Linked DNA regions of Homo sapiens: all the other regions are linked to region 1. Evidence: promoter capture Hi-C in 16 types of primary human blood cells and fetal thymus (Javierre and others, 2016). All regions are on one chromosome and are shown on one strand. Each heading gives the region's core, a stretch centred on a gene start or on the middle of the fragment in contact. The rest is flanking DNA. Distances are from core to core; before and after follow the strand shown.

The links. The method cuts DNA at HindIII sites, captures the fragments that hold promoters and counts their contacts. A CHiCAGO score of 5 or more calls a contact.
Region 2: a fragment that was not itself captured here is called in contact with the fragment with the promoter of SLC12A5-AS1 in region 1 in 2 of 17 cell types (endothelial precursors and M2 macrophages); the score reaches 6.3 in endothelial precursors.
Region 3: the fragment with the promoter of CDH22 here is called in contact with the fragment with the promoter of SLC12A5-AS1 in region 1 in 14 of 17 cell types (M2 macrophages, activated CD4 T cells, endothelial precursors and 11 more); the score reaches 10.5 in M2 macrophages.
Region 4: a fragment that was not itself captured here is called in contact with the fragment with the promoter of SLC12A5-AS1 in region 1 in 2 of 17 cell types (megakaryocytes and M2 macrophages); the score reaches 7.4 in megakaryocytes.

What each region holds. Positions count from the first base shown.
Region 1 is chr20:46,017,544-46,024,992 of GRCh38, reverse strand. It overlaps SLC12A5-AS1 (SLC12A5 and MMP9 antisense RNA 1), which reads left to right and starts at 2,920. Exons shown (of 3, transcript NR_147699.1): 1 at 2,920-3,469; 2 at 5,145-5,262. It also overlaps a transcript of SLC12A5 not described here. RefSeq lists silencers at 2,870-3,229, 3,250-3,409. The HindIII fragment of the contact is 8,792 bases long and covers 908-7,449 here.
Region 2 is chr20:46,324,912-46,332,360 of GRCh38, reverse strand. No RefSeq gene overlaps it. Among named protein-coding and RNA genes, the nearest start is that of CDH22, 20 kb to the right of the region's middle. The HindIII fragment of the contact is 8,908 bases long and covers 1-7,449 here.
Region 3 is chr20:46,303,632-46,311,080 of GRCh38, reverse strand. It overlaps CDH22 (cadherin 22), which reads left to right and starts at 2,583. Exons shown (of 12, transcript NM_021248.3): 1 at 2,583-2,826. The HindIII fragment of the contact is 22,305 bases long and covers 1-7,449 here.
Region 4 is chr20:46,287,436-46,294,884 of GRCh38, reverse strand. The region is part of intron 1 of CDH22 (cadherin 22); the gene reads left to right. Among named protein-coding and RNA genes, the nearest start is that of CDH22, 17 kb to the left of the region's middle. The HindIII fragment of the contact is 190 bases long and covers 4,680-4,869 here.

The DNA.
Region 1 (7,449 bases), core at 1,671-4,170:
AGCTCCCTCTCCCTCCATGGGGACACATCCCAACTCCTGTTAGTCCTACCAGGCCCAGGGCTCTTTTCAGGGCCCTGACTCCCCCCTGAGAAATGGAGGCATAGTAGAGGATCAGATAAAGGAATAGGGGAGCATCTCAGAGTTGTAACAACTGTCACCAGGTCTACTTCTGTTCATCCAAGTCACCATCAATCTCCCATGACACAGGTGAAGCAAGTGAGGTGTGTGGCCCGCAATCCAGGGTTAGTGGCAGATTTGAGGCTTGGCCTTGCCTTGCTTCTTTAACTCCCTGTAAGTCATGTTCTCACCTATGGCTCATCCTCTGGCAGCAGAAAGCCCCCCAAGTGGCAAACCCCACTCATTTGGCCCAGAGTAAAAGATAATACACACCCACACCATCTCCCCCAACCTTTCCCAGTCTTAGACATGCTGCTATCCCTCCCTTTGGGTGAAGACAAGAGGTGGAAAGAGAATCTATCAGGGGCTAGAGGGCTGACACAAGAACAGCTATGGGAAAGATACCAGCAGATGCTGGGTTCCCCTAAGTAGCCCTTGTCTACTTCCCCATACAGTGATCTGCCAGAGAGGAGGTGCTTGAGACTGCTTCAGGCTTAAAAGGTTAAAAGTCACCCAAATCATTGTCCAGATGGAACTTCCAATACACTCCTGCACACAGGTACCCACCCCTCAGATAGACACAGAAATGTACACATCAGCACACCCTTCAACGTGCTGGCAATATAGTGACACACAGAAGCACTGAGTGAGTCACTGACCACCCCACAGGTCATCAAAACTAATGGGGGATGCTCCTCCCACAAGACACACACACACACACACACACACACACAGCCTCTGCCACAGCACACAGCATTCCAGGCTCATACACACCTGCACACCCAAAGCTTGGGGGCTGTGTTTCACTTCGACCCCAGCGAAGTAGTGTGAGTACCGGCATCTGAGAGTGTGAATGGGAAAACAGCAATCACCTTGGGACATGAGAGAGGGCCGTCTTATTCCTAAGCCAGGGGATGAGGAGCGAGAGAAGAGAAGGCAAGGGTAGAGAAGCAGGATCCCACAGCCACCCTCCTCTCATCTTATGAGCATTACACACCTACTAAGTGCCAGGCTCTGGGTCTGGAACTCAGAACACAAAGATAAAGGAGATGGTCCCTGTCCTTGAGATGTTCCAATGGAGGATACCCATAAGTAAAGAAAACGACTGCCATCCACCGGGACATGTGCACTAAGGGTGCAGTGGGTGGGCCGAAGAGGAAACTGAAAAGGTTTTTGGAAAAGGTTAAATGAGCTATAACTTACAGAACGAATAGGAGTTTTCCTGGCTGATGGAGGTGGGAGAATGAATGTGGACAAGAACACCAGAAGCAAATGAGGAAAGAGAATGACAGACTTAAGGCTTTGGCCTTTATTTTGCAAGTGATGGGGGGCTTCTGTGGAGGAGGGCTAGGGAAGGACTGGAGGCAGGGAGGCCAGTGGAGAGGATGTGGTCGTGGCCATGTGAGGCTTGGAGCAGGGCGATGATGACAGAGGGGGGACCGATGCTGCCAGATTCAGGATAAGTTTCAGAGGTGAATGGCCAAGACGTGGGGATCAGTTGGATTTGCTGGAAAGAAAAAAGGAAGGGTTGAGAATGGCTCCAGAATTTCTTACTTTCAAATCTGGGAGGCTGGTAAGGTCATTCATGAAAATGAGAAAAGAGATTATGAGAAAGATGAAGAGTGGAAGGAGCCCAAGAAATCCAAGTGGCCACAACCAGGAGGCGTTCGGTTCCCGGGACTGGGGCCATTCGGAATTCCAGGCCTCAATTTGGTCATCTGTACAATGAGGAGGTCCGCCAGATAACCCCCTAAGGGTTACTCTAGGGGTTTCGGCGCTTGGGTTTGCTTCGGGGCGAGCTCACCTGCGGCTCGGCAGCGACCCCTGGCGGTCTGGGGAGGCTTCTCCTCCTCCTTCTCCTCCTCCTCCTCTTCCTCCTCCTCTTCCTCCTCCTCCTCTTCCTCCTCCTCCTCCTCCTCCTCCTCCTCCTCCCCTCGCTGGGGCCACTACAAGCCGATTCGCCTTGTTCCTTCCAGACCCGAGGGCCTCAGAGCCAGGGAGAGGACCCCTGATGAGTGCCCCCTGAGGGGAGACTGTGCACGCGCCCAGGATGCTACTTCTCCACCGAAGGCCAGAAGGATCTTTCCCCTCCCCTATACTCTGTGCCCTGCGTGTAACTTCCATTACAAGACCCTGCACAGGGCCCGCGAGGAAGACGCCCCCAACCCCGCCTGAGCTGGCTCCTCCCAACCCTTACGGAGCTCGAGCAGACAAGGAGCTAAGTGGGTCCCCAAGAGTCGGGATCAGCGACCCTACGGCATCCTCCCTGAATCTCGCTGCCCAGGATCCATACTAACTTCCCTGCCTCCCGTCTCCTTCCCGGGATCCCCAGTCGCTGTCCGCTAAGCCTCCAGGGAGCTAGAGGATTGGAGGATCCGCCAGGCACCGAGGACCCGCTGACCTGGCACCTGCCTCGGCAACCCTGACTCAGTTTTCCTCCCGCCCTCGACCCCACCCCCCTCCCAGGCCCCACTCCCATCCTCCTGGCCCAACTCATTCCCTACTAGTCCCGCCCTTTCCTGACCCCAAACCAACCTAGTCCCGCCGCCTCCCCTTTAGGGGCTCCTGACCATCCCCCTTCAACACACAGCCCCCTTTTTCCCTAGTTCCACCTCCTCACTCTGGTCCCGCTCCCTACTCGAGATGTCCCCGCCCCTTTAGTGCCCTACGGCCTACTCTCCACCTTGACCCCGGCCTTTCCATCACCAGACCCGCCCCCTTCGCCTCCGTCCAAACCCCTTCCCTGGCCCCACCCCTTTCCCTCGTGGCCACGCCCACCTCGCGTTTGGCCCCTCCCCCTCCACACTTTGCGTTCCGCGGCCCCGGCCCCTTGGTTTCCTAGTCCTGGCTCCATTCCCCTCTCAGGCCTAGGGCTGGGACCCCTCCCCGCCCCCGGTCTTGGCCCTGCCCCCTTCAACAGACGGTCCGCCCCGGCCCCTCCCCCTCGTCCCGCCCGGCCCTGGCAGGCCCCGCCCCCTGCGGCCTCTACCTTTGACGTCTTCCCCCGGGAGGTGGCGGGGGTCTGCGACCGAATGCCGGCGGGACTCTGGGTCAGGGCTTCTGGCGGGCCCTGCGGGGGGCAGCGAGGTGACCGTGAACCTGCGGCTCATGGCGCGGAAAGGAGCCAGGCGGCCGCGGCAAGGTCCGGGATCGCACAAGTGGCTGCAACCAGGCTCTAGGAGGGAGAAAGAGCGGATCCCCCAACCCCCTCCGCCCGCCCGCCCCCCGCGAGACGCGGCGCCGCGCAGGGTCCTAGTGCCCGCTGTGCGAAGGGTTCCTGAATCTGGCCACTTCGCTGGGAGGCCCTGGGCTCCCCAGTGCCACCCGAAGGGCCTGAGGAGGCCATCTGCAGGTGAGAGTCGTCCCTACAACGGGGGCACCTCTGTTAGGGTCTCCTAAACACCTGGGGCTCATTCATTCATTCATTCATTCATTCGGCACATGTCGATAGCGCTCCTGTGTTTCGGTCAATGGTGCGAGGGATACGTCGGTGGATGAGATCCACTGGCTTCTTGCCCTCAAGTGGCTTAAATTCTAATAAGGAGAAAAAGATTATAAGTGAGCAAATGCATAGATGAGATCATTTGAGATTGGATGTATGTTTAAAACTAGGGCCATGGGATAATGGGTAAGAGGGAGGACTACTTTAGGGGTGGCCTGAGAAGGCCTCCTAGAAGATGTGGTATTTGAGCTGAGACCTCACTGATGAGAAGGGCCAGCTATGCAAAGATCTAGGGGGAAGAGTTCTCTAGAAGAAGAAACAGCAAATGCAGAGCCTTGGAGTGAGAAGGAGTCCCGACTGTCCAAGAAACAGCAAGGCCATTGTGTCTGGAAGAGAGTGAGTGGAGAAGAGAGTGACTGGAGATGAGGGAGGAGAGAAGGGCAGATCATGTGGTCTTCTGAAGGCTTTGGGGAGGATCCTGGATTTTTTGAGCAGGGGAATGATGTGATCCAATTTATAATTTAACAGGATCATTCTGGCTGCTGGGCGAAGGTTCAACTAAAGAATGGCAAGAGTAGAAGCTGGAAATCTAATTAGGAGGCTCCTGCAGACCCCAAGCTGGGGGGTGATGACAGCCAGACTAGAGTGGTGGCAGTTGTCTGATTCCAGTTAGGTTTTGAAAGTGAAACCATCAGGACCCACTGATGGATCGGATGTGACACGTGACCATAAGAGTGAAGTCAAGGAGAAATCCTGGCAATTCACACACTGCTGGTGGGAGTGTAGTTAGGCAAAAACTACTTTGGGAAACTATTTGGAAACATCTACTGAAGGTGAACGTACACATATCCTTCAACCCAGCAGTTTTTCTCCTAGGTATATACCCGAAAGAAATGACTACTTGTGATCACCAAAAGACATTTACCATGAATGTTCATAGGGGCATTGTTCATAATAGCCCCAAATTGGAATCTACCAAATGCTTGTCAACAGTAAAATAGAGAAATAAGTCGTAGTACCTTCACACAATGGAATACCATCTACAATTCTCAGAACAATATGGATGAATCTCACAAATAGAACCTTGATAAAAAAGAGTCCAGACACAAAAGAATACATACCCTATAACACTATTTAAATACAGTAAAAAATAGTCAAAGTCTATCTAAGCTGTTAGAAGTAATGATAGTGGCACTGGGCGCGGTGGCTCACACCTGTAATCCCAGCACTTTGGGAGGCCAAGGCTGGTGGATCATGAGGTCACGAGTTCAAGACCAGCCTGGCCAAGATGGTGAAACCCCATCTCTACTAAAAATACAAAAATTAACCATGTGTAGTGGTGGGTGCCTGTAATCCTAGGTATTTGGGAGACTGAGGCAGAGAATTGCTTGAACCTGGGAGGCGGAGGTTGCAGTGAGCAGAGATCATGCGACTGCACTCCAGCCTGGGTGACAGAAAAAAAAAAAAGTAATGATAGTGGTACCCCTTGGGGAGAAGAGGTAGTGATTGCAAGCAGGCTTCTAGGGTGCTGATAATGTTTTGTTTCTTTCTTTTTTTTTTTTTTTTTTTTTGTCTCTTGAGACAGAATCTCACTCTGTCGCCCAGGCCAGAGTACAGTGTCATGATCTTGGCTCACTGCAACCTCCACCTCCCAGTTCAAGAAATTCTCCTACCTCAGCCTCCCAAGTAGCTGGGATTACAAGGTACCCACGACCGTGCCCAGCTAATTTTTGTATTTTTAGTGGAGAGAGTTATTCACCATGTTGGCCAGGCTGGTTTTGAACTCCTGATCTCAGATGATCCACCTGCCTTGGCCTTCCAAAGTGCTGGGATTATAGGCATGAGCCACCATGCCCAGCCTCTTGTTTCTTGACCTGGTGCTGGTTACACACTTGTGTTCCATTTGTGAAAATGTCTTCAAATGTACACTTATGATAGATACATTTGTATATTTATTATATTATGGCAATGGTTCTCAACTGGGAGCAATGTTGACCACCAGGGAATGTTTGGCAATATTCAGAGACATTTTTGGTTATCACAACTGGAGCAGGGGCTAGTACCAGCATCTAGGGGCTAAAGGCCTCTTGGGCCCTCTAGGTTTGTACCAGGGCTGCCTGGCCATGAGTCACAGTTCAACATTACCCTGCTGCACCCCATCCCCACACTGGGGCCTTCCTTAGCAGAGAGGGCTGACCCTGAATGGGCCTGGCATCTGGCCGTGGATCCTGTCACCTCCTAGAGGAAGACACCAAACATGCTAGAAGGTACAGTGTAGATGTACAGTGTAAGACAATCCCCCACAACAAAGTATCCAGCCCAAAATGTCAATAGTGTAGAGGCTGAGAAACCCAGTACTAGAAAAGAAGTTTAAATAACTGATTCCTAGATTTTAGGACTGATTAGGTGTTCAGTTTGATTGAGGGTGGATGATGCTGTCTCTTATTAAAGTGGTAACAACAGAGGAGCACGTTTGGAAGGTGAAACCCAGGAGTCAGTTTGGACCCGTTAGGTTGAGAGGTCTGTTTGCCAGCTAAGGAGCCATGTAGAGTAGGCAGTTGAACATGAGTCTGGAGCTCGGGGCAGGGGAGAGGAGGTTATGGTAGGAAACATAAATTTCACGGTCTTTAGCAGAGAGATGCTATTTAAGGCTGTGGGCTACCAGACATCACAGGGAATGAGTATACACAGAGCAGAGGATTCCCACGATTGAGCACAAGGGTGCCTCTGTCACCAGAAGAGGAAAATCCACCCAGTGAGGTAGGAGGAGACCCAGAAGTAAGGTTCCAGAGGCCGAGAGTTTCAGGAAGAAGGGCAGGATCCACTGTGTCAATGTGGGGAGAGTTGGTGTGGGATGAGCAGAGAGGAGCTCCTGTCACATCTGGCTACAAGAAGGTCATAAATGGCTTTGAAGAGGGTGACTTTGGTGGTGTAGTGGGGTGGGAGCCAGGCTGGAAATGGCTGAGGAGAGAATGGGAATTGAGGAAGTGGAGACAGTGAGTAGAGACCATGCTTTTGGGAAGTTTTATTGTGAATAGGGATAGGAAGGTAGAGAAATAGACTAGTATCTAGTGGGAGGCAGGGGTTAAGACAGATTGTAAACAAGCCATGGCGGGGAATGTTTGTACGCCAAGTGGGAGTGGGTCATTTGAGCAAGAAACAGATGAAAGAGGAAGCTCAGGAGGGCAGTTTTCTGGACTCCTACTTAAATTCCCACGTGGGCCCTGATCAAACCCATCATCTCCACTCACGGGCCCCAATCTTTCAGTCAAGTCCCTTTGCTAACCTGTAAGGTCAAATTCATATTCAGCTTGGCATTCAGGACTTCTCTCATCTAGCCCAAACTAGCACTGCTATCTTAACCATTCTGGAATCCTCTCCATTCCCTCTTAGCCACCTGCTACTACCCCATGCTGGAGTTCTGAGCCATTTGAAGTTCTCCAGACACCCACTGCTTTTTCTCTTCTTTTTCTCTTCGTGCACTTGCACCAAGAACCCACATTCAAATCCCACTCTTATCACTCACTAGCTATGAGACTTTGGGTGAGTTGTATAACTCTCTGTGCCTTAGTTTCCTTATCTGTAAAACAAGGGATTGGTGATGGCAGTAATAATAGTACATACAAAGTAATAGGAGTACCTATCTCCTCTGGTTGTTTTGTCACACAAAATGCACATAGAACAGTGCCTGGCACATAGTGCTGTACCGTGGATAGCTACTAACGTCAGGTATATGATCCATATTTTATTTATCCACTGACTTACTCCTGGGCAGCTAGGTTATTGCCAGTTTTTCACTAACAAACAATGCTGCAATCAACATCCTTCTATGTGTTGTCTTGTGCACACATGTGAGGGTCAGAAAGTAGTTACATTTTTAGGTTTAGTGG
Region 2 (7,449 bases), core at 2,711-5,210, 310 kb before region 1:
CGGCTTTGTAGCCCCCAGATCCACCACCGCTCCCCACCAGGCCTTCTGGAGTCAGCAGTGGGGGGTAGGGATGCAGAGGGAGACAAACAGGATTCGGGATCCATCCTTGCTTGTATTCCTGGTCAGTTCTCCTCATGCCTGTAATCCCAGCACTCTGGGAGGCGCAGGCAGGAGGATCACTTGAAGCCAAGACTTTGATCTTGAGGCCAGGAGTTTGAGATCAGCCTGCACAACACAGTGGGACCTCGTCTCTACAAAGTTTAAAAATTAGCCAGGCGAGGTGGCACGTGCCTGTAATTCCAGCTACTTGGGAGGCTGAGGCTGGAGGATTACTTGAGCCTGGGAGGTCAAGGCTGCAGTAAGCTGTGATCACACCACTGCACTCCAGCTAGGGCGACAGAGCAACACCTTGTCTCAATAAAACAAAAAGGAAAAACCAAAACAAACAAAGAAAACTTCCTGGTGGGGAGCAAATCAGGAGGGCCTGGCTGGCTTCACCTAGACTGCCCCTCCTGTTGAATCCCCAGCCCAGCTGCCCTCCCTCCTCTGCCCCTGCGGGCCACAGGGGAGCCAGCAGAAGGGCCTGGCTCAGCCCGAGGCCTCCCTGCAACCCTCCCAGCCAGTGAAGGGTGTGGCTGGAAAAGGGGCCCAGTCCAGCCCAAGGAGTGTCCAGGGCCTGTGCAGGAGACTGGCAGGAAGAAAGTTTTCAAGAAAGCTGAGCTCCAAACCAGGCGACCGGAGAGGCGAGAAACCCCTTTGATGTCAGGACTCAGGTGTAGGTGTCTCGTAGAGGATTCCCGTGTTCCTGCTGACAGTCACAGCTGCCTCCCTGACTGTGGTCCTGGCTCGCCTGTGTCCTCCAGCAGCTTCTTTCTCTGACCACCATGCCCCCATCCCTCCCAGGTCTGTATCCCACAGACCCCCTGCCCAGACAGCACTAAAATCCTCTCGAGGCCACCCCGAGGCTCCTTTCCTAGCTGGGCTCCCACCGAGCTGCTGCCCAGCACACACCTCTCCTCACCTCTCCTCATACTCCCTGCCTGTCTCCTTCCCCTCCTTCCCCTACTCCCCCGACCTTCGAAGCCCAGGCTGCGGCTCCCGCACTGCACCCTCACCTCACACTTCAGCCCTGCACACATCAACTTGCGCTTCTCTCTACACGCACTTGCTGTGTAGCTTCGGGCAAATCACTGAACCACTTTGAGCCTCACTTTCCCCATCTGTAAAATGGGAGTGATCCCTACTTCTCTCAAGGGCAGATGTATGGCTCAAATTAGATCACAGCTGTGCATGTCCATCTGAATTTAGAACAGTCCGAGGGATTATTCATCGGGTTTGACGGCTTCTCCTGGGCTTGTAGATTTCGGCATGGGTCTTTGTCCCGGCCACACAGATGCTGCTCAGCATGGTTCATTTGGAGCAGACATGGCCCCTTCCATAGTGGACAGGGATCCCTTCCAGCCTCTGGCCACAGGCAGATGAAGGGAGCTGCTGCATGCAAAGGCAGGAGGGTGTGGATTAGGAGCCATCACGGGAAATGGCTTTCTTATCACGACACAACCGGTATTGCCAGGGCCAACTCTGGAAATTGAATTGCTCCCCCACTCCATGCCCCCTCAATACCTCTTCCCTCTGCTTCCTGCTCCCTCCCTAGCCCCATCCCCCATGACAGGGAGAGACCCAGAGACAGCGATGCAGGACAGAGCAAGTAGAGGGGGCAGTGGGGGTGCTCAGAGACTGAGGCAGAGATTGGGGCACCAGGAGGCAAGGGCAGGTTTGGCAAAATGCCAAAGGCAGGGCAGGGATGGGGCCACAGAGGGGGCCACTCAGGAATTCAGTAGACAGGGGGTGCCACCCTCCCCGTGGAATTCCCCACCACCCCACACCCGCCAGGCCAGAGCTTTGGCCAGCCAGGTTGGTGTCATCTCCTCTCTGTTGGCCCCTCTCCAGCTCCCACCTTGGCGCCTCTGCAGGGCCCGGGAAGGACCCTGATGGCCAGGGCAGAACCCTGGGCTGGCGCCCACGGGTGCTTGGATGTAGTCCCAGTGAGTTCCTGGCAGAGCCAGTCTGCAGGTGGTGGGGAGCAGGCCCAGTGGCCGGGGGCAGCCAGCTGTGTAATCAGGCGGGTTCTCACCACAGCCAGCCCAAGGGAGGAGGCGCACAGGGAGGGGCAGAGGGGGGGCCCAGCCCACCTGCCTCCAGCTCCCCTGGCAGCCCAACCTAGAGTCTCTCGGGGTAAACTCAGAGTCCAGGAGGCTCAGGAGGAGCTGCCGGAGGCTGTGCGGAGGCCTAGGACCCCATGAGTAGACCTCCAGCCAGCCCAGCCCCCAGGCCAGATGCAAAATCAGGAGCTAAAGGGTGCTGCCTCCCAGCCTGGCATGGTCCTGCCTCCCCTTCCCAACCCAGCATCTTGGTGTATAGCCTAAAAGTCTCAGACCCTCTCATGAACTGACCCCTGCCGTCAGCCTTTAGACTCTCAGCCCAGAAGTAGCCCCTTCCCTTAGACCCCTCTCTTCTCAGCCCCAGCTCACCCATCTCCCACCATGTGCCCATCCATGACTAGCCTGGTGCTCAGGAGCCGCAGCAGCCAGGGAGCCCGGCATGGGGGCACTGCAGCCCCAGGACCACGTGGCTTCTTCTCTACTCAGCCCACCCTGCCCAAACACATAAACTCTCTCTCTCTCTCTCTCACTCATTCACAATGTATTGCTGAATCTCAAGTTCATATGTTATGAGCTCCAGGGACCTCTTAATTCAACCTCCATTTACAGGTGGGGAAACCGAAGCCCAAGACAGAATGGACTTGTCCAAAGTCACCTGACAAGGGAATCCCTCTAAGCCCCAGCCAGCCCTTCCCTCCAAGGGTGCCCTCCCCTGGGAGTCCCCCTCTGGCCTCAGGACTCTCTCTGCCCAGACTTTGTGGGTTCTCCTGGCCTCTGCACTCACCTGCACCTCCCAGACCTGGCCAATTGCAGGGCCCCAAAGTTAATAAATCAAGGTGACTTTGGGGACAAGATTCAGCCTCTTTCTCCCTTGTCCCTCCCATTTGCATAATCCTGGCTGGCAATATGATAATGATGTTTGTTAAAGACAGAGCACAATAAATTAATACCGTTAAGTTGTTGCTGCAAAATGCAAAGCAGGTAATTTACTGCCAGCGAGGAACGGAGCCTTTAAACTGTAATGGATTAACTTTCCCAGCAGCAAATATGTCCCCCGAGGGAGGGAGGCAGGTGGGTGGGCTGGGTTGATGATAGGGGGGCCTGCCTGCTTCCCAGGGTTGGGCCAAGTGTCCAAGCCAAGATCTTAGGCCTGCACCTATGTCAGCCCCTCTCCATTGTACATAAGGGGAAACTGAGTCTTGTGCAAGACAGGGAGCTATGGAAGGCCACAGCAGGGCTGTGGTGGTGACCTGCCGGCTTTGTATGACAGCCCATTACCCTCTAGAGGAGGGGGCTGCAGATGCCTCATTTGCACACCTACTCTGGAACGCTCAGGAGGAGCTCCTGTTACAGACCCTGAACCTCCTCTTCCTTGAGGGGGACTAGTGATGTCCTCCCCAGAATCCCCCAGGCCCAAGAGAGGCCTCAGCTGCAGAGTCAGTCCTAGCCCAAGGAGGGAAGGATCCTGGGTTTTGTTAGGACTGAGAGGAGGGGAGTGGGAAGGGGAAGCGGGGGCGTGCCAAGAATGGGGTTAGACCTTGCCCTGATGCCCTCGGATACTGGGAGGGAGGGGCTGTGGAAGGAGGAGAGGAATGGGTCTCTCGAGAGGAAAGGTGAATTCTATGGTTGACGGGGAGGGGAGTGGGATGGCGGCAGCGGGGAAGGTGGGTGGGCAATGGGAGGCTGGGAGTAGGAGCGGCTGGCAGGCCTAAGGAGAAACTCAGGCACTGGCCCAGGGCCCCTCAGGGGCACCTCCTCCACTGGGGCTCAGACAGCTCCTTGGGTCCCTAGGAGAATTGCCGCAGCCCCAGCCCAGGGCGGGCCGGCAGGCGGGTCTCAGGGACCCCAGCGGAATTCTAATTTCTCATTTATCTCTGCAGCTTCTCCTGCGATATTAAAGGGGCGATGCTCTGCAGTTGGCTCCCAGGCTAATTGGATTTGGGCCTCCTCTCACTCCCTGGTGAGGGAGGGGGATGTGGCAGCCTTGATGGGGGAGGGGATGTTTGAGGACTTGGGCTGAGGCTGTGGTCCAAGGCCAGACTCCTAGGCTACAGTCCTGACCATCATGTGGCCTTCCCAAGCCTCTGCCCCTCTCCGGGCCCCGCATTCCCTCACCTGAGATGATGATAATGATATTAATAATATTAGTAATAAAAACAACAACCATGATTTGCATAGCATTTCCTAGACATAGACACTGTTCTTAGTGCTATTCAGGACAGCACTCCTCACCCCCTCATCCTAACAACAGCCCAGTGCATTAAGTATGATTACGTTCATTGCACAGACGAGTAAACTGAGGCATGGAGGGGTTAAGTAAGTTGCTCAGAGTCCAGACAGCACCCACAGTGAATGTCTTTCAGGTTTGTGAGGGGCCTAGAATCCCAACTTTAAAAACCCCGTTACGCTCAAATAGGCCTAAGGTGGGGGTGTTACTGCCTGCACCCATTTCACCGATGGGGAAACTGAGGTCTGACCCAGACATATTTTTAGCTTTAATTTTCTGTAGCTCCCACCAAGGGCTCCCTTCCTTCTCCTCCACCCCAGGGCCCAGGGTGTTTCCAGGGTAGAAGGCTGGGGCTTCAGAGGGCGCATTCAGTGCAAGTGTCTGAGGTGGGGCAGGGGAACTTGCTCCCAACACCTGCCTTTCCTCCATCGGCCCTGCCTTTCTCCTTCTCTGAGCGGAGGCCTCTGTCCCAGCATCCTCCAGGCCTGCTGGGGTCCCTTGTCCCACACTGCTCACCTGGAGGGAGGACCTCACCTCCTTAGCACAAATTAATTCCCACATGTGCCCCAGATGCAAACCACACAGCTCTGCAAGTCCACAGTGGAATAATGGAGAGGGGAGGAGGCCGTACATGGAAGCCTGTTTCCCAGTGACCCTAGAGACCGGCCCTTTACGCATGTTGCCTCATGTCATCTTCATGATAGACATGGCTCCAATGCCCATTTTACAAAGAAACAGAGGCTCCCGTGGAATGTTTCAGGCCAGGCCACACGGCAAGGACCTGATTGAGCTGAGATTCAAACCCAGGTTTATCTTGATCCAGAACCTGAGCTCTGGATACATCCTCCTGTGCAAGAGAGAAGTTGAGACTCCTTTGGAAGTTCAGTATCAGAGGGCCTGGAACTGGAACCCAGGATGACTACAGTGGAAGGAGCCCTGCACTGGGAACCGGTAGACCTGGGTTTCGATGTCTACCTGGCCCCAAACTCACTGTGTAGTCCTGGGTGAGTCACTTGGCTTCTCTGAGCTCAAAGGCAAAATGCAGAAACCACCGTGCCTACCTTATGGGGCTATTGTAAGTATTACAGGAAGTACAAGTAAAGCACTTATCACAGTGCCTGACACGTAATAGGTACTCAACCCAGGCTAGCCATCATTCTGTGGATGTATTCATGCTCACCTCCCAAGACTGCTGGGATAGCACCCGGGCAGAGCTTTGTTCTGTGTCATGGTCTCAGAGATTGCCAGAGCTAGAAGCATTGAGCACAATACCCTTGTCTTTCAAATGGGGAAACTGAGGCAAAGGGTTTCAACAAGTGAGTGGCAGGGCAAGGACTCAGCTCCAAGTGCCCTGGTGGCCTCCCTGCTCAGCAAAGATGACAGTTCTCCTTCCAGTCTCCTTTTGCCCTGGGTGTCTGCATCTGTCTGTCCAGGCGTCCCTCCCTGAGAGGCCAGCTGGATGGCTGACCCCTGCAGCTCTTTCCAGTCCAGCCGCTGGCAGGAACCAGCCAGAATAAATGCAAAGAGACCCCCTCTGGAGGCTGTTCTTGCCGTGTCCCCCGTCCAAATGTTAATTTTGCCAGGGCCTTGATAAATCTTCCTGTCGTCTCCATCCGCTGGAGACATAGATTTCATCTTATTGAAAGGTGACACTACTGCCCTTTGGTACCAGCTATCAATTTCAGGTGGCAATCAGAGTGGAGAGCAACAAAGAATCAGGCCCCATTAACTCCCCTTCTGCCACCGAATCCTACCTTTAAATCTTTTGGGGCCATCCTACTTGAGATGTCTGCTTCACCTGCCCTTCCAAAAAGGTGTCAGGACCTCATCTTTAGCCTTTCAGGGCATGCCTGGTTGAGTTCCTTTCTCAGGCCTCCAGAGCCACTTTGCTTCCCAGTGGGCAGACTGAAAGAGTCAGGAAATTAATGTCCAGCTCTTAACTGATGACTATTTGAAGCCAGAGTATAAGTACCCCAGCTCCTCCCTCACCCTTTGCTGGGGAATGGGAGTGGATTGCTCTGTGATGTGAGTCCTATTCTCCCTCCCAGAATTCCCCAGCAGAGTTGAGCTCCAGTTGCCCACAGTAGTAACAGGCTTGATAAAGCACCCGGTATTGGTTGCCTGCCTTTCCTGTATCACTTTCCCACTGTCCTACTGGTGCTTCCTGGGATCATTTCCCAAATAAATTACTTGCCCTTGAATCCATTTCTCAGGGTCTACTCTGGAACCCAAACTGTGGGAACACTGAAGATTTTTTAGCATCTCAAGATGGAATGCACTCCACTCAGCAGTGGAGATACAAGAGGCCTGACGTGTATTGATTGCCCACGACATGGCAGGAATCATGTGTTTTGGCTGCTAGATCAGTTTTTCATTCATGCTGCCAGACAGCTCTGGGAGGACTTGCCCCAGTTTTACAGATGAAGAAACATGCTCAGAGAGGTGAAGCGACTTACCCAAGGCCACACAGCCAGCAAACAAAAGTCAATATCCAAACCCAGGGAGCACACTGTCTTATCCACTCCATTCTACCACCTCTAGACAGGGGCATGAAATGGAGCCAGGGCTCACTTCCAGGTACAATCAGCAGTGCAGATGGGTAAATTTCTCCTGAGGGCATACTATGAGGCAGGCAGCCTTCTGCAAGGTGCTAAGGACAGCGCAATGAAAAGACGCAGTTCCTGTTCTCAAAGGGGCTGGAAGTGGTGGGGGAGATAGACCTGTGAAAGACTGTATGGCTGGGACCTCTCTCAGAGTGCACTGCAGCCTCTTCCCTGCAAAATCCCATCTTACAATCATGGGACATTCCTGCAGGGGGCAGCTGAGAGGTTGTCTATTTCAACACATTATTATATGGAGGCCACCGAGGTCTCAAGAGAGGCATTCACCCACAGTTGTACTCCATGGCCAGGGCTCTTGTGTTTGAACTCAGCTGAGGATTTCTGCAACAGAGCCACAGGTTTCCTCAGGCTCACAAGCAATTCTGAAAACTCAGAAGTCTCTAAATTAAAACAAAAAACAAACAAACAAAAAAACACCTTGCAACATAAAACATTTAAA
Region 3 (7,449 bases), core at 1,334-3,833, 290 kb before region 1:
ATTTGTTGAAAGTAAAAGGAAATTATCTGTGTAAAACATTTAGGAGAAGGCTTGACACATGGCACAGGTTCACTAAATGTTAACTGTTGTTACTATCATCTCATTTTCTCTTCACATCAATGCTGGGGGAAGTGGCTTGCCCACGTGTCACACAGTCTGCATGGGGCAGAACTGCTCTCAGAGCCCAGGCCTGCCCAGTTCTTCCTCTGTCACACTACACTGCCTCTTGCTGCCCCTGCCACACTGCAGCAGGAGTCCCAGCTTACCTTCTCCCAGACCAGAGTGAGAGGTCTGACCCAGGCCCAATGCGTCAACCTGATCTCTCTACTTGCCGTCTGAATGATCTTGCTATTTCAACACCGTGTCTCAGTTTCCTCATTTGTAAAATGGGCTAATACTAGTATCTGATTATTGTGAGGACTTAAAAGCAGAACTATGGCACACAGCAAGTGCTCAATAAACATTCAATGTGTTCTCAGAGCCTAGCCATAGTGCTCACAACAGAGTGGACACTCAGAGAAAGTTTGTTGAAGGAAGGAAGAATTGGAAATAACGGTAGAATGAGCCTGAAAATAGGAAACATTGGGATAGGAAAACCTGAGGGTCTAATAAAGAGTCATGGGGAGCTGGGTGCAGCAGCACATGCCTGGTGTCCCAGTTACTTGAGAGGCTGAGGCAGAATGATCACCTGAGTCCAGGAATCCAGCCTGGACAACATAGTGAGACCCCCATCTCAAAAAAAAATAAAAATAAAAGAGAGAGAAGAGAGAGACCAGAGCAAAAGAGAAAGATGTGACAACAGTTCATTCAATAACATTTATTGAGCACCTACTGTGTGCATGCAGATGTGACAGCAACAGTGTCCCAGACCAAAACAACCTGTGGACAACTAAGTAGGTCTGACTCCAGAGATGAACAGCACACACCAGAGCCTGGAGGAAGAGGCAAAGAAGGAATGGGAACTGGAGCAAACAGCAAAAGTGAGTCAGAGCGGGAGGAGAGAACCAAAAGTGAAGAGATGCACCTGGAAGGCTGGCCTCTGGTCTCTGAAAGCATGAAAGAGTGGAGGCTAAGAATAGAGAGGAGAGGGGAAGAGAGAGATGGAGAAAAGGAAGGCGATAGAAAGGCAAGGCTGGAAGAGATCAATGAAGGGAAATAAACCAAGAGAAGGACGTAGGGGAGGGAACAGACTGGCACAGTGGAGAATACATCTCAAAATAAATAAATGAATGATGGAGTTTAGTAGGAGGGGCCAGAGGGGCAGCCAGCAGGAGAGGTGATTCCAATCATCAGCAAGACGGACTAGGGTGTGGAGATGGAGATGGAAATTGGGGAAGGAGGCGAGGAGGAGAGAAGGATAGGGGCGAGGTAGAGCTGGGGGTCCTGGAGGGCCCTGCCCCCTCTTTGCCATGAACTTCAGCAGCTGCTTGTGGGTGATTAAATGGCTGGTCATTGGCAGCTTGGCGGGACAGAGGTCTGCAGCTGTCCAGTCTCCTGTTATCCTTCACTCACCTATCTGGAAGCCATGGGGAATAGGGGGGCGGGCAACTCCTAAGGGGACCTACAACCCAAGACAAAGGGTGGGTCTATGGGAGTCACTGGTCCTATCCTACCATCAACGACCTCATATTGGGAACTCAGGAGTGGGGTGGGAGGGTCTCCTCCATTAGGCCTCATCCCAGAGAGATGAAGTAGTAAGGAGAGCCAGGCAGCCAGGAGAAAGAAACAGGGCCAGGTGGAAAAAACATCAGGGAGCAGACCAGCCGGATTTTTAAAAGAACGGAAAACCCAACCAGCAAGGAGTTTCTGGGCAGTGGGAAGATTTTATTGGGAGACTTCTCCAGGTCAAGGTGGCACCAAGTTAAGGATGGAGGTGTCTTGTTTTGCCTGCTTACTTTGTTGGTTGCAAGGATGTCCAGCGGGACTCTCCAGAGGAAAAGCCCACAAGTTTCTCTCCCGGGGACACCCGACCTCCCACCTGCCTGGAGACTCAGCCCTGGGCACCTGGTCGGTGTCCACCTCAATGCACAGTGACTGTTTCTGAACTGGCAGATCTGGTCTGTGCAAGGTGCCTTTCTGGGCAGCAAGCCGGGGCGGCCACTGTTCGAGAAGCCTGCTCCTACCCTGGCCTGCGCCCCTGCTCCTCTGAAGGCGGCCTCCCGCAGTAGTCAGGGGGCGGAAATGGGAAGCCCTATTCGCAGTAAAATCAGGTGGGGAAATAGGCTCTGGTCTCAAACTGCGGCCACCTGGGGAGCTGCCAGGCGAGGAGGTAGATGGTCCCCCTCCTGGGGGCGCTCCCTTCGCGCGGATCTGGGGTTGGAGGAGGGAGGGGCACTGTCCCCTGGGGGGTTTCCTGGGACTGGGCCGCCCGAGAGAGGGAAAGGCTGTCCCCTCCTGGTGTAGGAGGGGCGCGATCCGGGGGGCGGGGGCTGGGGTTCCCCGGCTGCGGGGGTCCGGGCCGGCGGCCGCCTGCGGCTTGGCGCTGCGCGGCTCCTGCCCGGCGGGCCCTGCATTCTCCGAGTCTCCACCAGAGGCTGCGGGAGGAAGGAAGGGATCCGTCCCTTGCACACTTCCCCCCAGTCAGACACGCACACTCCCTCGCTCCCGCTCGCTCGCTCACTCCCTCGCTCTCTCGCTCTCTCGCTCTCTCGCTCACACACACGCGCGCACACGCCGCCGCGGCTCCCCCTCTCGCTCCCGCTCTCCCTCCGGCTCCTGCGGGCGGCCGCGGGGCTCCGGACTCGCCCGCTGCCCGCGCCGGGGCTCCCGCCCCACGCAGCGTCCCGAGGCGGCAGGACTAGGGGGAGCCCCGGGCCGCTCCCCGAGGTAAGAGCGCGGGGTGCCGCGGGAGGAGCGGCCGGATCGCCGCCGAGGGGAGGCTGCCCGGCAGGGAGGGAGCCCCCTGGCCGGCGGGAGCGGCCGGGCAGGCGGCGCGGGGGGCGAGCCTCCAGCCGCAGGAGGAGCCGGGGTGCCTGCGCCCGGCCCTGCGCGCCCCCTCCTCTCGGCCGGGAGGGCGGGGAGGGAGTTTCCCACGTCCAAACTTTCCCCGGCGCGGAGCCGAGCCGCCTCTCGGCCCGAAGCCCGCAGCTCCCACCCGTCCCCACAACCTCGTCCGCCGCGCGCCCGGGAGCCTCCGGGACCCCCGCGGGCCGAGGGGTGGCAGCGCCAGGGGCCGAGCCGGCGCGCCAAAAGGGGCTGGGAAGGTGGCGCACAGCCCTGACGCGAGGGCTGGGACCCAGGCGTTCCCGGTCCCCCAACCCTGCTAGCGGGGCTCGGCTCCCCGGCCCCTCCCAGAGGCGGGGTCCGGGGCCGGGAAAATACCGCACGGCGCGAGCGTGTGCGCGCGGTGTGTGTGTGCGAGGTCGTGCCGCGTCCGGGGACACCCGGAGGCTGACTCCAGCCGCGGCGACACGCACGGTTCTGGTCCCCTCTGAGCCGGGGAGGCGGCCCACAGGGACCCCTGCCGGCCCCACCGGCGCGACCCCCCCTGCCCTATGGCCGTCGGGCGGGCTGGCGGTGAGCGAGAGCCAGCGCTGCTCTCTTCCTTAGGACCCGACTCCGGAGACACCGTCCCCGCTGGGGAAGAAGGACGGGGCCCCCGACAGCCTAACGTCCAAAGAGAGCGCCACTTAGGGCTAACCCTCGGGGGCCGCGGCGTTTACTGTGAAGAGTGGACTGCGTGGGCGCGCGGGGTGCCGGGCAGCCCTGGGTGGGCACAGTGTGGACCCGTCTCGCTCGCGCCTCCCCGCTGCCTCTTCTCTGGCAACGTCGGGCCCTGTCCCAGGCGGGGCTGCAGAGGGTAGGGCTGATCCAGGATCCCCCGAGGTCTCCCCGAGGTGCAGGGCACCCCCTTGTGGCGGGCAGAGAAGCTGCTGTTTGAAGCTGCTCAGGTCTTCCGAGGTGCTCGCTCCTTGGAACCTCTTCTCTCCAAACCCTTCGGGCGTCGCCAGGGTTGCGCATGCCAGCTTCTTTTTCCGTGGGGCTGATTCCAGCACTCCCCAGGTTTCTGGGGCTGGCCGAGGTGCCCCCAGCACAGGCAGCGGCTCATTTGAGGGCTTTGGCTGTTGCCAGCTCTCTCTCCCTCTCCACCCAGGTTCAGGATCTCATCCTCTTCTCCCACTGGTCAGCGCCAATACCCTATATCAGCATCACCACTGCCCTAGGGCCCAAAGGCTCCTCCCTAACCACCGCGACTCTCTGTCCTTCATTTGTATCCCGTATATGTGTCCATCAGTGCCCACTCCGTCCCCCTCAGTTGCCCCTAGTCTACAGCCCTTGTTGAAACTTGGCCTCTACACCCATAGTGACATCCTTTGGTCTTTGCCCACCAATGACCATTTCCTCGTCCCCCCCAACCCCGACCCATCTTCTATCCTGTCTGCCTCAGTTTTTCTGTAGCACTCAACTGTTCCCTGCCCCAGCCATTTCTCTACTTCACCCTTATTTCCCTCCTTGTCCCAGTGTCTGGGACACTCCTCTTCCATTCCTCCTGGAAGGGAAGGGCATTGCCAACATTTAAACACTGCTTCCTGGAGATGTCTGTGTGCCCTTCCCGGTCCACCACTGCCAGTGCCTCGGGGGCAGGTACTTTATAAAGCCAGCCAGGTCTCTCTCAGCTAAGGGGCACCTGTACCTCTTGGGTGGCCCCATCAGGGGACCCCTGGAGACAACCCCTTTCCCTATTCCTAACTGTGAGCAGCACATTGGAGACCACCTGGGCTGCCCTCTTTTCCATTTTCAAGGATTGGCAACAGCAGCCCGAGGTCACATGGTAAGCTATACCCAGAGCCGGAATAGGAACCCAGGCATCTTGACATCCAGGCCTCACCAACGCTGCTTATGTGTTGGGTAGGCCTGGGGCAAAACAGAGCCGTTTCTTGGCTTCACGCTGCAGGCAGGACAAGAAGACACTTGCTCTAAATTCAGCATGAGGTGTTCAAGTTAGACCCCCAGTGCTCCCAGGCCAGTGCCGGAGGAAAGCTGTTGAATGCCTTTAGCAGAGACGCCGAGTAGCAGAAGCAGAGGACAAAGTTTGGCCCCTAAAAGTGTGTTGTGACCTCCGGGTGAGTCACAGCCTTTCTGTCAAAAGGGTGGCTGTGATCTCTGGATGTTTCTGGTCGTGCTCTGGAATAATCATACCTAGAGGTTGGAACCCCCAAAGCCCCTGCTGCTTCCCCAGGCACTGGTCTTTCTGAGAGCTTTGCAGGAGCGCTGCATTCTGAAGTTGTCTGACAGGGGGCCGGGCCATAGCTAAGGCAGGGAGCCCAGGAGGGCCCGTCTCCTCCCGAGTTGGCAAAGTTCGGAGCAGCCAGTTTATTTACCACATGGGCGATAAGAGTCAGCCAATTAAACTTCCTCTCCTCTCTCTCTCTGTTCTTCCCCCTCCCCTTTTTCTTCCATCAGGAAGCTCCAATCTGAAATGCAGCCTCAGGTAGAGTGAGAGAGAGTGAATGATTTCTGTTTATATAACACGGGTAGCAGCTGGCACTGCATGGCCTGGGAGGGAGTGAGGGAATAGAAGACCCTACGGTGGTGTCTGGGCTGAGGCCCCGGGGCCAAGGACTTCCTCATTCCTCCCCATAGCTGAGCCAGGAAGGGTGCTAGGGGCTGGGGACCAGGTGGGGAAACAGGCTGAGAGGAAACCCAGGCCTCAGGTCAGGCTCAGAGAGAAAAGCCTCATGCCCCCCGCAAGAGTGGGCACACCCTCCACCCCGGGTTCCTCAAAGCACCTTTAAGATGGAGCTCTCAACTCAGGCCTCTCCTTCCTACAACCTTGTGTTTTGATTCTGGCCTCTCTAGAGAAAGCCTAGATATTTCACCACGAGGACAGGCTCTGACCTCAACTTTTCATCAGGGCAGTGGGCATGATAGGACTGTCTTTCCGCCCATGGAGGAGACAAGGCCTAACAAGAAAGTTGTCTGTGGAGTGATTTGAGCTCTGTGTATCTGGCAGGAGGGACGTTTTCTCATTGTTGATGATACACAGTGGCTGCTTGGAAACAGAGGTGCAGGACAGGAAGGCTGGAGGCATGGCTGTTATATGCAGTTGGGCAGGTTGTTGACTGTCCAAGGGCATTTAATGCAGGAGGAGAGCGGGGACTGAAATCTATTTTAAGCTCCACTCTCCAAGTCAGGTGCCCCAAAGACAGGCTGTGCCTGCCTGGAGGAGGGGGCATCTTTCTCTAATTTGCAAAAAGGCTTCATATACTTACCAGCCATGGGCCTATGGGGCTGCTTACCCCCAGAAAAGGATCCCTTTCTTTAATTACTCCAAAGGTGGCCCATCTGGGGGTTAAGGATATATTCACTACTCACTCCTTAGCTCAGCTCTCTTACAATGGGCACACACCTTTCCGAATATGTGGGTCTGATTTCAAACACATGAGGTACAGCAACCTGGAGGAATTCCCTTCTTCCCCCACATTTCCCTCCATGCCCCATCAGCAGGCTCCTTCCTGCTGTCACATTGGGATTAGGCTGGGAACTTCTTGCTTTGTCGTCAGACCCACAAGCCTTCAGCCATCCACTTGTTACCAGCTCTTTCCTGTGCATAATATAAATAGATGATTAAGCGCGTAGGCATTGGAGTCCAACCAGCCTGAGTTTGTGACTTGCTGGCAAGTTACTTTACCTCTCTGAGCCTTAGTTTCTTCCTCTGTGAAATGGAGGAAAATGTAATACCTGTCTCATTGGGTTGTGAAGATCAAATGTGCATGAGCATGTATGGTGCTGAGCACAATGCCTGGCACATAGGACACCCCATACATAAAGCAGTATTGTTATTGCTCATATCCCTCCATTTATATTCCTTGGTTCCCATGGGGTAAATGCAGCAGTTCCTCCTTGTTTGGTTTTGCACATGATCTCAGCTGCCTGCACCCCTGCAGGAGGGGAATTGAGTTAGGACCACCAGGATCTGTCTCTGACTTCAGGATCCGTCTCTGACTTCAGGATCCTTCTTCCTTTGCCTTGAGGAAGGTGGAGTCCCTGCATGCAGCCGGCAGTGTGGGAACATGTTCTAGAGTCCCACAGATTCATTTCATCCTAATCTCTACCTTTTCTCCCCTCTCATCCATCTCGCGATCCCTTCTCCAGCTCAGACCTCACTGGTTCATGCCTAACCTGTTGTGGCAGCCTCCTCCCTGGTCTCCCAGCCTCTGATACCCTCCCGCTGCAACCCCTGCGGCAACCAGAGCGATCGTTCTCTAACGCAGGTGGGATCGTGTCACTGGCTTGATTAAAACCCTTCCATGGCTCCCCATTGCCTACTGAATTAAGTCCAGACTCGGCACTATGACATTCAAGGTCCTTGTAATCCGTCTGCATCCTCCTTTATCTCCCACTGTGCCTCCAATCTGACACTCCTGCATCCAGCCCCACCTGCCCTTCCACCTGAACAACCTTCCCCGAAGATATTCCAAAGCATTAAGGACCCAACCCAAATAGCAC
Region 4 (7,449 bases), core at 3,525-6,024, 270 kb before region 1:
CCGGGAAGGTGCAGTGGGTCAGATATGTTCTTGCCCTTGAAGAATTTGGGATGAACAGCCAATGCCAGGAATCCCACTTCTCCTAGTGCCTCAGTTTTTTCAGTTGTCCTCTTCCCTTCTACAGAGTAGCCTTTTCCTTGCCCCTTTCTTTCCCTCTTTCTCCCAAGCCCCCACCTACCCACCCCAGCAGAGGTTGGGGGGAGCCCTGTGGAGAAGGGAGAGTTTGTACAAACTGGGGCACAGTTGGAACTTCTGATTGGCTGGTCAGGGCCATTCTTTTCCCTGGTTGCCATAGCAGCCATTTCCCGGGGTTGTCAGTGATGAAACTCATAAACATTGTTTTCAAATAATCCGTGTAATTGAAATAACAATTGAGCTGTTAACTTGTCTCTCACACCCCAGCTAGGACAGATCTTCCTCTTTCCGCACCCTCCTACCACCCCTGGGAAGCTCTGGTGTGTCCCCATCTCCTGTCTGAGGCCCCAGCCCCTTCCTTGGGGCAGGAGGAAGAAAGAGGAGGTTGCATGGCTCCTCAGCATCATTATAGAATCCTAGAAACTCAGGACCCCACAGCTGAACCAGAACTTAGAGAACAGAACCCACTTCGTTTGCAACCAGAGACTCAAGGAAGGGAAGGGGCTTAACTAGGGCTCCACAGGAAGGACGCAGCTGAATGAGGACATCCAGTCCTGCTTTTAGGTGAAGGTTGAAGCTGATGTGTTGCACTGAGGATCAATGCATAAACCATAAAGCTGCCCCCTTTTAAGGATTTGGTCTTGCAGGCATATCTACCTACCCCTACCCCCATTTTACAAGTGAAGAAACTGAGACTCCAATAAGTTAAACATAATATAAGTGTTTTTTTGTTTTGAGATGGAGCCTCGCTCTGTCGCCCAGGCTGGAGTGCAGTGGTGCAGTCTCGGCTCACTGCAACCTCCGCCTCCCAGGTTCAAGCAATTCTCCTGCCTCAGCCTCCTGAGTAGCTGGGATTACAGGCATGAGCCACCATGGCTGGCTAATTTTTTGTATTTTAGTAGAGATGGGGTTTCACCATGTTGGCCAGGCTGGTCTCAAACTCCTGACCTCGTGATACGCCCGCCTTGGCCTTCGAAAGTGCTGGGATTACAGGCATGAGCCACCGCACCTGGCCTCTGTGTTTTTATAGCTTCTCAGAAAATACCTGTTGAATGGATGGATCTCAAAGAACACAGACCACCTCTCTCCTCCCCACCCCCAAAACCAGGAACTGAGATCTGGTTTCTTTAGTCAGAGGACTTCGTGGAATAGGGTTGTGGACAATTTGGGGACATGTGGCTCAGAGGAAGAGTGGATTCCTCAAACGACTATTAGAGGGAGGGAATTCCAAAGTTCTCCCCCTACCCCCAGCCACCCCTATCTTGGGTCGGAGACTGCACATTCAGAAACATAAACATGAAAAACATAGGTTCCCTGCCTGATCCTCAGAAAGGCCTGGGATGGATTGAAAAATGGAAGAAGCAAGGCCTCTTCTACAAGCACATGTCTCCATGCACACACGGAGATGCAGGTCAGCACAGACAGCTCCCTGTAGCGGCAGCTTCATGGAGGATAAAAGCATTTTTTATAAAGTGTCTGGTTGCTGTCCAAGGTACTCTCTGAGTCCACAGAATGTGTGGGTGGCTGAGGCAACAGGCCATTGCTAGGACTGGGGATGGGGGCAGTCTTCAGACCAGATGACAGCAAGAGGTTGGCCTCCTTCCCTGGATTCTAGAGGGTTGTAACCACTAAGGGGTCTTGGCAGTCTCCTCCCCCAATTCATTCATTCTTACTTACTCAACATATACTGAGCATCTACTCTGTGCCAGGCACTGTGTGGACCACAAAAACATTAGGATTAGGAAGACCCAGGATCTGTCTGCAAGGACTCTTTCAGTCTAGTGGGGAAGACACACATACACACACACACACACACACACACACACACACACAACCAGTGGCTGGTGCTCTTCTAGAAGCACCAGAACAGAACAAAAGAGGGAGTGATTAACTCTGCCTGCAGGAATCAGAAAGACCCCCTGGAGCAAATGACTTGGGCTCAGTCTTAAAAAGATGAATAGTTCTCCAGGTGGATAATGGGCAGGAGAGCATTTCAGAGGGGCAGCATGAACCAACGCAGGGAAGAATTCACGGTTTAGATCACAATGAGAAGTTCTGTGTGACTGGAGTGTTGGCTGCTTGAAGGTGAATGGCAGATTGAGGAGAGTGGGTTCTGGAGAGGGGCAGTGACTTGCCCAAGATGCCACTTTGAGTTGCAGGCACAGCCAGGACTAAGACACCGGATACCCTAATTTGTCAGAAAATCAGAACATCAGAGTTAGTTGGGCGTTTGCGATTCTCTAATCCAAACTGCCCATTTTTCAGATGGGGAAACAGAGGGTGAGAGATGTTCAGTGCTGTGCCTGGAGTCCCACAGTATGGGTGTGGCAGAGCTAGGATTTGAAATCTGGTCTGTTTGACATCAAAGCCACAGCTGTTTTCCTAGTGCCACAGCTAGGAGCAGAGCGAACCCCACCTCAGCTCAGCTGGAGAGCAGAGGGCTCTGAAAAGGACGGGCTGCTCATGGGACCTTTGCATTTATTGGGACAGGCAGCCAGCTCCTGCCATATCGTTGGCACTCAACACTCACCCTGGGGGAGGGAGCCTCCAGTGGGAAAGCTCAGCAGGCATGCCTTCCTGTTGGCTGGAGAGACCTAAGTCCTACCACCAACTCTCTGAGTGACCTTGGGTAAGGTGTGACCCTCTCTGGTCCTTTCTTCCATGATCCACTATGTCATAGGAGGATCCTCCTTTGCCTACTGTCTGGAGCAGTCATTCTCCATTGGGGTGGGAGAGCAGTTGATTTTGGCCTCCAGGGAACATTTGGCATTGTCTAGAGGACAATTTTGGTTGTCACAACTGGGAATAAAGAGTGCTACTGGTATTCAATGGGTAGAGGCCAAGAATACGGCCAGCCATCCTACCCTGCACAGGACAGCCCCCACCAACAAAGGGTTATCCAGCCAAAATGTCACTGCTGCTGAGGCTGAGAAACCCTGAAGTCTGAGGCCATTTGTGAAGATCAGATATGGCCACAAGAGTGGGCACATGGGGCTGTGCAGAGGTGCACCCCAGGCTGCAACGCAGAGGAGCAGAAGTGGCCTTGCTGTCAGGCAGACCTGGCTGTGTTGAGAGGTCGTTCACCTCTCTGTGCCTTGGTTACTTCATCAGTGCAGCAGGGGCCGTAACAAGAGCACCTATCTCGGGAGACTATTGAGAGGGTGTGATGAGATCATGAATGTCGACGGCAGAGGAAGCAAATGGAAAACAGAAGCCTGGAGCCAGCTCTGGAGCCAGCAGGGCCGCTCAGGGCTATGGGATCTTATGCAACTTACCTGACCCCTTTGCCTCCATTTCCAATCTGTAAAACGGGGATTATGGTAGTACCCATCACACAGGCTCAATGGAGGATTAAAAATGAGTTAACAGATGTAAAGCATTTAGAGCGACACAGAGTAAGTGCGATGCAAGTGTTAGCTATTATTATTTGGTTTTGTTTGTTTTTTGTTTTATTTATTTATTTATTTATTTTTGAGATGGAATCTCGCTCTGTCTCCCAGGCTGGAGTGCAGTGGCGCGATCTCTGCTCACTGCAACCTCTGCCTCCCAGGTTCAAGTGATTCCCCTACCTCAGCCTCCTGAGTAGCTGGGATTACAGGCACATGCCACCACATCCAGCTAATTTTTGTATTTTTAGTAGAGACAGGGTTTCGCCATGTTGGCCAGGCTGGTCTCGAACTCCTGACCTCAGGTGATCCACCTGCCTCTCTTCCCACAGTGCTGGGATTACAGGAGTGAGCCACCATGCCCAGCCAGCTGTTATTATTTGAATTCTGTCTTGAACAAGGCAGTCACATAAGTTGCAGAGGGTGCATTGGACACCAGGCCCTCCAGATGCCAACTCTCTCTGCAGCTCTCTGACTATCCATGCCACACCCCCAGCCTTCCTTCCAAACACACCCCCCATAGACCCTGCTTGGGCTCTCTGCAACTCTGCAAAACTATTACTCTCTCTCTCTCTTTCACCAGCTCCCACCCTGCTTGTCTCTAGCTTCGTGAATTCCCTGACACATTGGGCTGGCCCTCTCCTCCTTCTCCCTCCCCATCTCCACCCTAACCCCCTTCCTCTCCCTTAGAGTCTGCCAGAGCCAGAGTTAGCTGTCAGCAGCTCCATCCAGGAGGAGGGGGACACAAGGGTGCCCACACCTGACTCTATAGCTCAGGCCCGCATCGCACTAGCCCTCCCCCTAAACACTCATATCCTGACTCCTGGCCCACTTGGATTAGCCTTGGCTAACCCTTCAGAGAATGAATAAATCCTCCAGTGCTGGGTTTCTCAACCTCAGCTCTATTGACATTTGGGGCTGGATAATTCTTTGTCGTGGAGGGCTGTCCCGGGCATTGTAGAATGTTTAGCAGCATTCCTGGCCTCTACCCACTAGATGCCAGCAGCACCCTCCCACCCAGTTGTGACAACCAGAAACATCTCTAGTCATTGCTAAATGTCCCCTGGGTGGCAAAATTGCCCCTGGTGGAGAAAAACTGTTCAAGAACTTGACTATATATTGTGAGCTTCTGTCTCATAGTGTCCTGGCAAAGAAGCTTTGAAAATCTAATAAATATCCTCAAGTTGAGCCCCTCAAGTTGATGCCACCTTCAACTTTGTACAGTTTTCTCACCAAAGTTTTCATTTCTTGACCCATTCTCAAAACCAGTTGACCACAAACATTAGGCCCAGCTCCCAAACACTCAGCTCTAACTAGAATTCTGAATATTAACTTTAAATCCAAAGCTTCAACCTGTTTTCCAAACTCCAAACCTTAATTCAGACCCTAACCCTAAACTCTTGGCCTGTTCTAAAACTTTAGTTTCCTGAACTTCCAACAGAATTCTAAATCCACAGGTTAGCCTCAAACATGAAGCCAAGTTGGAAACCTGCACTTCCAGATCCTTCCATCACCAGCTCCTAAATTTTAATCTCTATCCCTTCTGGCCTCTAGAGATTCCTTGGCTCATGTTTCTAGCTTCCTCCCCTCCCAGGTGACCCCAGGTCCTTCAGAAATGGCAGGAAAATTTCCAGTAGGCAGCTCTGTCTAGCCATAATCCCTCCCTCATATCGCCCCAGGCAATCCATCTGGAAATTCTATTATTATTCATTTGTTTATTCAAACATTTGATGAGCACCCACTCTGCAGACTCTGTGTTGGACACCAGGAAAGCAGTGGAGAATCGGATCCAGTGGCTTCCCGCTGTCTGCTGGGGGAGACAGACAAGCAGACAAACAGGAAGACAGATAGATAAAAACTATGCGAGTCATTCAAGAAATATCCACTGAGCACCTATTATGTGCCATGCGCTGTTCTAAATGCTGGGAATACAGCATCAAGCAAAAAAGACAACACCCCTAAAATCATGGCACTCACATTATAGAGAAAGGAGGCATCCATTTATAATATATCAGATAGTGATAAGTGTTATGGAGAAGGTGAAGAAAGCAGGATGAGGGGATATGAATGGCCTGGGGAACTGAGGAGCTAGTTTATCACAGGTTGTAAGGGAAAGGTGCATGGGGTCAGCCATTTGAGCAGACCCTCGAAGGAAGGGAGAGAGTGAGCCAGGCAGACATCAGGGGCGAGGGTGTTCCAGGCAAGAGGACCAGCAAGTGCAAAGGCCCAAAGGTGGGATCATACCTGGTCTATTCAGAGAAGAGCCAGAGGGCCAGTGTGGCTGAAATAGAGGGAGAGGGGAGTAGGAAAAGGTCAGAGAAGTAACAAGAAGCCAATTCTTGTTGGATCTTATGAGCCATTTTACTCCGAGTAAGACAAGAAGCCAAAAGAATTTTGAGAGAAGGAGTGTTACGGCCTGATTTATGTTTTAACACCATAACTGAGAACAGTCTGCAGGGGGCCAGGGCAGAAGCAGGGATACCAGTTAGGAGGCTGTTGCAATCATCCAGGTGAGAGATGATGGTGGCCGGACCAGGCTGCTAACAATGAAGGTGGCAAGATCGGCCAGATTCTGGATCTATTTTAAGGTAGAGCTGGCAAGATTTGCTGATGGATTGGATGTGGGGTGTGAAGTCAAGACTGACTTCAAGGCTTTTGGCGGAAGCAGCTGGAAGCATGGAGTTGCCAGTTACCGAACTGGGGAATGCTGGAAGAGGAGCAGTTTTTGAATTTATGTTCTCATTATTTGTGTGTGGTTGGGGGTAGGACTCAGGAGTCCGGGTTCAGACATGAGGGTTTTGAAGGGCGTTTTAGATATCTGCACTGAACAGGCAAGAGGCTCTATGTGTTGGGTTTTGGGCAGACATCTGAGTTGGACACACATATTTGGGTGTCATCAGCAAATCCATGGGGTTTCAAGCTGCGGGGTTACATGTGGTCATCTGAGGAGGAGTGGCCCAGGGACTACCCTCTGGGGCCTTCGAAAACTTGGAGGGAAATGAGATGGAAACAGCAGAGGAAACTGAAGGAGCCAAGAGCTCTATGAGGTACAGGGTGCTGGGAGAGGTGTGGACACATAGGGGAGAGAGACCAAATCTGGGGTACCAGGGAGGGATTCATATATTGGAGGGGATATTGGAGCCTGGCTTTGAGTGATTCATACAAAATCCCCCATCAGACAAGATTGGGGAAGGACATTCTCCCTGGAACAGTACATGCAAGGGCTCACAGGCCTCCACACATTGGGGAATGTTAAGCTACATAAATGGTTCCTTATCCTCCAAACTTGCTACTTCCCTCTCTTCCCCAAATCTGTGAATGGGGCCACCTCAAGGTCTTACCGAACAGGTCCTCATCTTGCAGCTCCCCGTAGCATTCCTACTATATCCCGAGGATTCTGCCTTCCGTATGTCTCTAGAAATAGCCCACTCCTCTCCAACCTCACTGCCCCCACCTACTTCAAGCCACCATTATTGTTCACCTGGACAACATCCTCCTCTCCCATGTCCGTGTTTCATTCTCAGCCACCTGATGGGGGACCCCAGCAGGTGAAGGGGCGGGGGCCAGTCTGCTTCACACCCACAGTAGCCTGGGTGAGTTCCAAACAGAATAAGATTCATGCCAATCCTCTGCTTCGGAAGCTTTCAATAGCTTCCCATTGCTCTTAGAATGAAATCTAAAATTTAACAAGGCCCACGAGATCCTGCACGGTGTGGCCTCCTGCCTGCTTCTCCTGTCTCATCTCGGCCTTCTTCCCCATTGCTCCTGACGTGCCAACCTCCCCGCTGCCTTTCAGGTTCTCAGCTTGGCAAAATCCATCCAGCCTCAGGGCCTCTACCCAGGCTGTTCCCTCCACCTGGCTGCCCTCGCCCTCGCCACCCCCACACTCCAGTCTGAGAACAAATCACTTTCTCAGGGACCCCTTCCC